Regions from separate parts of the Homo sapiens genome. Here regions 2 and 3 are each linked to region 1. The links are contacts of gene promoters, found by promoter capture Hi-C in blood cells and fetal thymus (Javierre and others, 2016). All regions are on one chromosome and are shown on one strand. Each heading gives the region's core, a stretch centred on a gene start or on the middle of the fragment in contact. The rest is flanking DNA. Distances are from core to core; before and after follow the strand shown. Region 1 holds the start of DENND4A (DENN domain containing 4A). Region 2 overlaps DENND4A (DENN domain containing 4A). Region 3 overlaps DENND4A (DENN domain containing 4A).

What was found. The method cuts DNA at HindIII sites, captures the fragments that hold promoters and counts their contacts. A CHiCAGO score of 5 or more calls a contact.
Region 2: a fragment that was not itself captured here is called in contact with the fragment with the promoter of DENND4A in region 1 in 4 of 17 cell types (total B cells, naive B cells, megakaryocytes and 1 more); the score reaches 7.0 in total B cells.
Region 3: a contact is called between a fragment that was not itself captured here and the fragment with the promoter of DENND4A in region 1, in 2 of 17 cell types (total B cells and naive B cells). The highest score is 7.9, in total B cells.

Annotation. Positions count from the first base shown.
Region 1 is chr15:65,790,275-65,793,654 of GRCh38, reverse strand. It overlaps DENND4A (DENN domain containing 4A), which reads left to right and starts at 1,362. Exons shown (of 33, transcript NM_001320835.1): 1 at 1,362-1,645. It overlaps LOC105370866 (a long non-coding RNA gene), which reads right to left and starts at 1,182. Exons shown (of 3, transcript XR_932372.2): 1 at 883-1,182. RefSeq lists enhancers at 666-1,285, 509-1,474 and a silencer at 1,476-1,805. The HindIII fragment of the contact is 1,569 bases long and covers 722-2,290 here.
Region 2 is chr15:65,722,047-65,725,456 of GRCh38, reverse strand. DENND4A (DENN domain containing 4A) reads left to right here. Exons shown (of 33, transcript NM_001320835.1): 12 at 2,509-2,609. Among named protein-coding and RNA genes, the nearest start is that of MIR4511, 4.4 kb to the right of the region's middle. The HindIII fragment of the contact is 1,381 bases long and covers 842-2,222 here.
Region 3 is chr15:65,699,419-65,702,939 of GRCh38, reverse strand. It overlaps DENND4A (DENN domain containing 4A), which reads left to right. Exons shown (of 33, transcript NM_001320835.1): 16 at 1-67; 17 at 429-635; 18 at 1,050-1,178; 19 at 1,748-1,889; 20 at 2,265-2,396. Among named protein-coding and RNA genes, the nearest start is that of SNORD13E, 4.2 kb to the right of the region's middle. The HindIII fragment of the contact is 8,993 bases long and covers 1-3,521 here.

The sequences.
Region 1 (3,380 bases), core at 113-2,612:
TAAAGTATGCAACTCGATTGTTTTGTTTTGTTTTAAAGCAAAATCTTGCTCTGTCACCCAGGCTGGAGTGCAGTGGCACAATCTCGGCTCACTGCAGCCTCCGGCTCTGGGGCTCAAGCGATCCTCCCACCTCAGCCTCTCAAGTAGCTGGGACCACAGGCGCACGCCACCACGCCCGGCTAATTTTTTGTATTTTTGGTGGAGACAGGGTTCTCGCCATTTTGCCAGGCTAGTCTTGAACTTCTGAGCTCAAGCTGACCCTCTTGCCTCGGCCTCCCTAAGCGTTGGGATTACAGGCATGAGCAAAGGCGCCTGGCCTCAGTTATTTTTCTAACCTTTATAGCATGTTTCCCCTTAAAATGTGCTTAAGTACTTTTTTATTGTCCCTCTTCTCCCACTAAACTGCAGTTTCCTGAAGGCAAAGGTTTTCTGTTTCCCTCACCACTGTGCACCCTCTGTATGGATGTTTGTTGACTGAATGAATGAATACAATGAAAGAACTGGAGGTAGGAAATAAAGTTGTAAACTTGGTTAGTAAAAGGCTATGCAATTTAGGAAAAGTTGACTTTAAAGCAGAGGGATTTTGGGGGTCCTGTTTCTTCTTTCATTTGTCCATGGAATAATGTCTAACATTTATTGAGTACTTTCAAGCACTATACTAAGTACTTCACAGGTACTATAGAATTTAACTCCCGAGCAACCCCATGGGGGTAATCAAGCTTTATTAACCTCATCTGTCAACAGCCATCAATGGTGGAGAGCCACAGTCAGGTTTAAGTAGGCCGTATCCAATTAATCCAAAGTAATCGACACCCCGTCAGTCAACAATAGCTGTTTCATCAACGTACTTTTCGGAGAAACCCCCTGAATTCCCCGCTTTACCTTTCTATCTTGGGACCGAAACCTACTCGGCGGTTGCTAACCCTTAAGGGAGTTTCCTGGAGAATGTGAGCACCCTTGGTGGAGGAGCAGCAGCTGCTCAGATCTAGCAAGTCTGAGACGAACCGAGCAAGGCAATCTCAGGACTCCCAGAGTGCCGGGGAGGAAGGAAGAAACAGGTCAGTTGGCGCGAACTGGATTCTTGTGCCTCTGGGTGACGAAAGGTGAAGGGATTGTACGCTTCGCCCACGCCAGCCTGGGGCTCGGGATCTCCTGACCCGACGGGGAACCACGGTGCGTTTCCCCAACTACACCGCACGTCACGGACTAAGGCGACTTAGTCCCGCCCACCTTCACCGCCCCATTATCAGTTTGGCGCTAGGACCCCACGACCCTCAACTCGGCCCTCTCCTCCCACTCGGGCCAGATCCGGCCTTCGATTGGTGCTCGCGGGCGTGATTCCCGCCCCCGCCCCTTCCGTCATTGCCAAGATGGCGCCGGTCGCGGTGGCCGCGGAGGCTAGAGTCGGAGAAAGAGGCGGAGGCAGTGGCGGCCGCGAGGGGAGGGGGAGTCCCGTCTGACTGAGACGGCAGGCCTGGGCGGGCGGGCGGGGGTGCCGCGAAGGGCGGAGCGCCGGGCTGGGGATGAGCTAAGCGGGCTCAGAGCGCCGCGGCATTCAGCCCCTCGTGTTCCGCTACCGCGCGTGCGGGATTCCGGCGCCGCTCTCCGAGCTCGATCCGCTGCTCGCACGGGAGCCAGCTGGGTGGTGAGTGCGGGGGCGGCGACCCGGGCAGCGGTGGCAGGTGGAGCTGTCACGGCCCGGAGAGGTGACAGCCGGGGGCGCGGGAGCGGGGCGGGTGGGTTCGGGGAGGAGGCACGGATGGCCGAGATCTCCGCCCGAGAGCTCCTGAGATCCGGGAGGTGCTCCGCGGCTCGGTCCGCCCCGGGATGGCGCGGCGGTGCTGAGAGTAGCACCCGCGCCTCTGCGTCGGACGCGTGGGGGGCTCCTGTGTTTTCATTCCAGATTTTCTATTCCAGGCTGGCCTGGGGCTGTTGTTATTTGGGAGTGGGGGCGGGGAGGGGGAGGTCCTGGATCTGGGATTTTGACAAGCCCGTTACGTAAGTCGGAGGTGGCTTCCCGGAATCCCACCTGCTCGGTATCTGAGACAGGCGGCGGGGGGAGCCCGGGGTGCCTGCAGGCCCACTTTTCCTCCCAGGGTCTGTTCAGCCTTCCCCGGCCCGCGGGCACGGGTTCTGCGTGAGCGCGGCCAGCGTCCAAGTTGACCAGTTTTTTTTCTAGTCTTTTTGGGGGGGTGTGTGGTGGGGGAAGGGAACTGTTCCTGGTTACCACCATTCCCTTTGAAGTTTATTGTTTTCTGGAGGTGGGGGGCAGGAAAAACAGTAAAAAGCTTGTGACCTAAAATTGGGTCGCAGCGACAGCTTTTCATTATCGTGCTTTTAAATGACAGATGTGCTGGAAGATTGTTGTTGTTGTTCCAATGTGCTTTTAATTCAAACGTATGGTTACGCCTAGAACCGTAGAGAGAGGTTTTTGTCTTATAGGACAGTTATTTCTTGTTTGCAACAGCAGGACAGGCATCAGTCAACAGGCATGTATTTATTTGAGGAGAAAACGCGTGTCAGCCAGCTAGAGACCCGTGAGGGCAGAAATTGTATTACTCTGTGAATATGTTATTCTTTAAAATGTATTATACGTTAATGAAAAGAATAGCCCGAATGTAAAAGAAGTCTTAGAAGATTACAAGCTGTTATTTGGTGTGTATATAGTCTCCTTCTATTTTCTGTTTACCCTAGTATACCTCTTCTCTCCTTGGGGGAGGAGGTGGAGACACCTGTAAACAGCGTAGCCCCGGTTACGCTAATCTATTGTAGTACATTTGGGATTATTTTAAGAAGTATTCTGGGGGACCTAAGATTGGGTAATAAGTAAGGACTCTTGAGCAAGTTATTCAGTTTATGTTGATAGCGGTTCTGGGATTCGACTTCTGAAAACTTAAGTATACAAAATTTCTGAGCTGTTTGAACCCTGTTTGAACTTAAAATAAAATATTATATTTGGCTTCTTTTTTGGAAACTGTTTTGGGCAGAATTAAACATTTTCGGCAATTTTTACTTTATTTTCACGATTTCCCTTTGAACCACAGCTCTCAGTAGGAGTCCAGAACAGCATATGTTATCATCATCATTATATATAATATGTTACATAATTTTCTTTTTCTGAATGATTAAACATAGACCTACTTCACTGTGGAGTTTAATTTTTGTTTTATATTATTTTTTAAGCCCCTTCCATTCTGGGATCACTGTGGAATTTTATAACAGTGTACTTGCTGAGAAAGTTAATTGATCTTGATACCAGTCGCAAATTGGGAATAAATGTAGATAACTTTTGGTCCAAGTTTTAAACTTATATACACAAATTTACATTTTTGAAAATTGGTGAAGCAATATGAATTTTTTGTCTGTGCAAGAGAGCCAGG
Region 2 (3,410 bases), core at 283-2,782, 68 kb after region 1:
GATCTGCCCGCCTCGGCCTCCCAAAGTGCTGGGATTACAGGCGTGAGCCACCGCGCCCAGCCGAGGTAGTTCTTATTAACCCTTCTGACAAGGAAACCAAAGCTTAGATTTTTAAGCGATTTATCAAAGGGCATATAGCTTATGTTGTCAGAACTGCATTTTAAAGCCATTACTGTTTGACTCCAAAACTAATGCTTCTACCACTAATTATTGGGTAACTATATAATATGTGTATGTCATAAAATAATGTAGTAATCTTGTAAGTGGAAGTCATCATGAGTAAATATACATTTACTCATAAGATGATCTTTTTTATAAGAAGATGATCATAGACCAAACTCAAGTACTTCAAAAAATTCCCTTACCCAGCCAAGTTTTAGAGGGAAGATATCAAAGGAAAGAGGCAGAAATTATAGCAGTAAGTAACAGTAATTAGATGTGATCAGATGATACCAAGATGTTGTTCATTCATTTACGCCACAAACATATCCCGAGTGCCCTTTTTTTGCTAGGCACTGGGAATAAAATAGCAAACCACATATTCTTCTTTCTCTTAAGACACTCATAATTAAGTCTAGCAAGACAGGCACTATGCAGTGAATGGTAAGACACAGTGGGAAAGCTGTGTTACTGAGTTTCATCAAGAAAATAATTTTAAAAAGTGTTTCTATGTTGCGTTCTTACTATAACACAGGATCCTGTTGGTCACATTGTAAATGTAATCACACCTTCACAGCAGGACATCTGCAGTTTGACTTTGCCCTATCTTTATTTTTATTCTCATTTGTGGAAAGATAGAGGGGACAAATTCCAAGACAGTCATTTTTGTTCAGCTTAAGCTTTCTTATCCCACTCTTTTTTCTTTGTTTACTTTTCAAAGTGATATTTGCCCTTTTTTGTTCTGTAGGAAGTTTAGGGAATATAAAAAGGTTCAGCAAGTTCCACTACACACCTGTGCTATGTTGTTCTGTGGTGGTTAAAATATGAGTGTTTTACTTTTCTTTTCTTTTTCTATACATTTTTCAAGTTTTCTAAAATGAATATTCATTGCTTTTGAAATAAAAAAAAAAAAAAACGATTCAAAAAAAAGTAGAGTCAGCTGGTCACAGTGCCTTTTGCCTGTAATCCTAACACTTTGAGAGGCAGAGGCCAGGAGGATTCCTTAAGATGTGGAGTTCAAGACCAGCCTGGGCAACGAAGCAAGACCTCATCTCTACAAAATAAAAATTAGCAGGCTGTAGGGGTGCGCGCCTGTAGTCTCAGCTGCTTGGGAGGCTGAGGCCTGCTTGGGAGGACCACTTGAGCCTGGGAGTTAAGACTGCAGTGAGCCGTGATCATGCCACTGCACTCCACCCTTGGTGACAGAGTGAGACGTTGTCTCTCTGGTTTTTTTTTTTAAAGTGGAGTCATTAAAGCTATCTTTAAGTCCAAATGCTTTGCAATGCTTTATCACCATGCTCTTTTCTACTCCTACCCCATGTATGGTTTAGAGACCAACTGTGTTGTAATTGCTATAATAAAGGAGATTATAGGAGCCTGTCCCAGAAACAAAGATACAATAGTTCCTCCTTTACCCACAGTCTGGTTTTCCATGGTTTCAGTTATCTGTGGCCAACTATAGTCTGAAAGTACATGAGTACAGTACAATAAGTTATTTTGAGAGAGAGAGCCCACGTTCACATAACGTTTATTAAAGTATATTGTTATAATTCTATTTTATTATAAATTATTGTTATCGATCCCTTACTGTGCCTAATTTATAAATTGAACTTTATCATAGGTATATATGCTTGGGAAAAAACATAGTAAATATGGGGTTCTGAACTGTCTGTGATTTCAGGCATCCACTGGGGGTCTCGGAATGTATCCTCTACAGATAAGGGGGAAACTGCTTTATCATTTTTAACGGATATCCTCTTTTATAGTTATATAAGTATTTCACAATATTATGCTTTATTCAAGTAATTTAGTATAATAGGTTATTTCTTTTTTGAAAGAAACAAAAATGATCCTTACTTATACTCTTAGGAAACTAAGAAACTAAGTATTTAAATATACCGAAGTATTTTGATAAGCTCTGTGGATCATGAATTTACTGAAAGTTTTTGTAGTGCTTTTTCTTACAGTATTTAAGAAAAAAACTTATGGTAGGATTTTTCTATTATTTAGGTGTCTAAGCACACTTAAATGGAGATTAAGAGTAAAGATCACCACATTAAGCTTTATGGTGATTAGCAAGATTCCAAAGCAACTGGAATTTACTCAGTATAAATATAAACTTGTGAACTATATTTAATACAAGGTTCTACCCTCATACAAATTAATTTTTGTATATTCAACATGCCAATTTACCCCTGTAGGATTTTTCTCTTGTTAATGCAAATATTTTGTTTTTCATTTTTCATTCAAGGTGTTTAATCTTTTCCCGTTTTTATATATAACAGATATATACCTTTCCCCTCCAAAAGACCATGTAACAAATATATTCCTGTTGTTATTTAATCTTAGAATTGGTGACAAGAAAAATGTAGCCTGGAAGATACTTCCAAAGAAGCCATGTAAAAATCTGATGAACACACTGAATAATTTGCATCAGCAATTGGCAAAATGTAAGTGGATAACTTAATTAAAGGAGGTAATTTAATCTGAAAAAGGGACTCCAATTACTTTGCCTTACTTATAAAAGAATAATGTTTATCTAGCAGAAAGCGGTTTTACCATTTTAAAGGCAGATGATCATTAAAGCAAAATTTGTTAGAAGATGAATGAGAGATTTATAAAATGTGTATTTTTTTTTTTTTCGAGACGGAGTCTCGCTCTGTTGCCAGGCTGGAATGCAAAATATGTATATTATATCTACCAAATTTTTATAGAACCATCTTAAAATAATAAAATTCAAAAGGATGTTAAGGTGGTTTATTTTACCGTTACTGAAATACCATGGAAAAAATGTGGGGTTCCACCTTTATATTGTTTTTTTTTTCTCTTTTGAGACACGGTCTTGCTTTGTCACCCAGGTTATAGTGTGTGGCACAAACATGGCCCACTACAGCCTTGACCTCCTGGGCTCAAGTAGTCTTCCCACTTCAGCCTCTTGAGTAGCTGGGACTACAGACACAATGAGGCACTACGCCTGGCTAATTTTTTAATTTGTTACAGAGACAGGGTCTTACCATGTTGTCCTGGGCTCAAGCAGTTCTCCCTCTTCGACTTCTCAAAGTGCTGGGATTACGGGCATGAGCCACCATGCCTGGCCTATTTTTTTCATACACAGAATAGAAAGTTAGTTTTGAAAATCGAAGACAAATGATGTAAACTACATTAGAAAATGCTGATGGTATCAGTGGGGTAAGAGCTTTTCACCTTCAGTGGATCTTAATGCTGTGCTTATCTTTTAAAAATGTTTTTTA
Region 3 (3,521 bases), core at 254-2,753, 91 kb after region 1:
GAACAAATTGCCTTCAAAATCAAGTAGTCCTAATAGCCCTTTGCCCATGTTCAGAAGAACAAAACAGGTACTTTATCACATTCTTCATGTAATCAAATTTTAGAACAAGAAATAAATTGGATATTTATCCTCCCGTAATATGCTTTATCACTTCATATATAACTATTACTAGATTATTATGTTCACCAAAGCACTGTGAAGATGGAGCAATCTGACTTCAAGAAATTAACTAGTTCTCTTGTCCTAGAACTTTATTTTATATGCTGTTTAATACAGATTCAAAAAGAAACTTGAAAACGCATTAATTACAGACATATTTTGTTATGGAAACATTATAAAAGCATGTGACTTGTACTTGTTTAGCACTCAGTTAAATAAAGATGCCTAAGTGCATAAATTTATTAGTAAGATCTTTATATTTTTTCCAGGAAATTAAATCAGCCCATAAAATTGCAAAGAGGTACTCTTCCATCCCTCAGATGTGGTCTAGGTGTCTACTGCGCCACTGTTATGGACTGTGGTTTATTTGTCTCCCAGCTTATGTGAAAGTCTGTCATTCAAAAGTCAGGGCTCTGAAAACAGCATATGATGTGCTTAAAAAAATGCAGTCAAAGAAGATGGATCCACCTGATGAGGTAACAATTATTTTATTGTTGTTATTTTATTTTTTTGAGATGGGGTCTCACTCTGTCACCCAGGCTGGAGTGCAGTGATGCAGTCATGGCTCACTGCAGTCTTAACCTCTTGAGCTCAAGAGATGCAATCCTCCCATTTTAGCCTCCCAGATAGCTGTGACTACAGTCATGTGCCACCACGCCTGGCTAATTTTTTAATTTTTTTGTAGAGACAGAGTCTCACTATGTGGTCTAGGTTAGTCAGAAGCTCCTGGGCTCCAGAGCTTCACCTGCCTTGCCCTCCCAAAATGTTGGAATTACAGGCATGAGCCACTGTGCCCTGCCACAATTATTGTTTAAAATGCATTATTTTATTCTAGATTTATGTACATGGTGACATCTGTGTTTCGGTACAATTTTGAACTTGTATTTCAGGTATGCTACCGCATTCTTATGCAACTCTGTGGACAATATGATCAGCCAGTGCTTGCAGTTCGAGTGCTTTTTGAAATGCAGAAAGCTGGTATTGACCCCAATGCCATTACTTATGGTTATTATAATAAGGTAAATACCTTGGTTTAATGGATAAAGAGTATTACTTTTGTCATTATGCAACATTAATGGCAGAAATAATTTATGCAGGGGGTTATTTGGCATTTATTTTAGAGTATATAAAATACATTTTGTCAATCAAGGAAGACTTTAGTTCTCTTTTATGTTATACAATCTACTTTGATTTTTTCTTTCTTTGAAACAGGGTCTCACTCTGTGAGACTCTAGCGCCAGGCTAGAGTGCAGTGGCACAATCATGGTTCACTGTAGCCTTGACCTCCCAGGCTCAATTGATCTTCCCACCTGAGCCTCCTGAGTAGCTGGGACTACAGGCATGTGCCACCATGCCTGGCTAATTTTCATATTTTTTGGAGAGGTGGGGTTTCACCTTGTTGCCCAGGCTGGTCTTGAATTCCTGGGCTCAAGTGATCCACCTGCCTCAGCCTCCCAAATTGCTGGGATTACAGGCATGAGCCACCACTCCTGGCCTACTTTGATATTCTTTAGCTTAATTCTGAAACCAATATATGTTCACTTATAAAAATTATTTTACTAATTATTTTATTTTGTTGAATGAATAGGCTGTTTTGGAAAGTACCTGGCCTTCAAGAAGTCGTAGTGGCTATTTTCTTTGGACAAAAGTAAGAAATGTTGTTTTAGGAGTAACACAGTTCAAAAGAGCTTTAAAGAAGCATGCACACTTATCACAAACAACTCTCTCAGGTAAGGGATGTATGTGTTTTACTTGTTCTTCAAAATTAATTGATTAGCTACAGTTTACATTTTTAGAAATTTTAAATAGTTTTAAAATATTGAATGTTTTAGTTTTTAGTTTTATTAAGCAAATTATATTACTCTTCCCATTTAAAAACCACCAGATTTCACTTCTGTTTAAATGTTTCAACTTCTGACGACCTTTGTGTGTGTTTTAGTGTTCATTAATAACTCACAATAGGTTTCTTTGTTATAGTTGTATTTTGCTAAGTATGTGGCACTTTTCATGTTCAGTATTACATTGGTGGATTATTAGCTTGAGCAACAAATTAATGTGTATTTACCTCTTCGAGTAGTAAAATGCTGTCAAATTGTGTTCTTAAGCAGATGGCAGTGACCTGGATGCTGTTAGTCATGGCAGCATGGATAGTGGTCATGGGACACACACTGTGGAGCAGGCACCTTTTAATACGGGTTTAATCAAAGTATATGCTACTGATGATAGATCTAGTACAGGTTTGTGTATGCTTATGTATACATTTATTATAGTACATTTTTAAAACTAGATTTGCTAGCCTATGTTTTTTTACATTTTCATTTTCAGTGATGTTTAACTGTCACTTTTTAATTTTATATATTATGTATTTTATTTGATATTAGATTTAATAACTATATGAAATTTTATTCATTCTTTATTTGAATAGAAATAAAAGTTTTAAGAGAGGTTATAAATCACTTTATTCAAGTATTTAGTATATGATAATCCAGTTAACTCTGCGTAGACATAGATCTGTTTACCCTATCATTTTCTTATAATAAATTCTTTGAAATTATGAAAATGATATTAGAGTTTTTTAAAAAAAGAAGCATAGCTCTGTGTCTAAGTTAATAGTATTGTACCAACATCAGTTTCCTGGTTTTGACAATGTACTATGGTTATGTAAGGTATTATCATGGGGGGAAGCTAGGTGAATTGTACCAAGGAACTCTCTGTACTGTAATGTTTTTGCAACTTCTAAATCTTAAGTGATTTTAAAAGTCATAATAAAAAATTTTAAATATATAAAAATATAGCATTTTAAGGCTGGGTGTGATAGCTCATGCCTGTAATCCCAGCACCTTGGGAAGCTAAGGTGGGTGGTTCACTTGAGCCCAGGAGTTTGAGACTGTCTGGGCAACATAACAAAACCCTGTCTCTACAAAAATACAAAAATTAGCTGGGCTTGGTGTCCCATGCCTGTGCTCCCAGATACTAGGGAGGCTGAGGTAGGAGAATTGCTTGAACCCAGGAGGTTGAGGCTGCAGTGAGCCATGATCAAGCCACTGCACTCCAGCTTGGGTGACAGAGCGAGACCCTGTCTCAAAAAAAAAATTTATATATATATATAAAATAATATATGTATAATATTATATATGTATGTGTAGTAGTATATGTATAACATGTGTGTATAATACATATACACATATGTATATGTATTTATATATGTGTATATAGAATTATATATCTTATGTGTATGTTTATATATGTGTATATAGAATTGTATACTTCAGTGCTAGAATTATAGTGCCGAAGATGGCATTAATTTCATAGAAGTATAAGTTCGTATATCAGCTTTTCTTAACTATTATTACAATTGACAC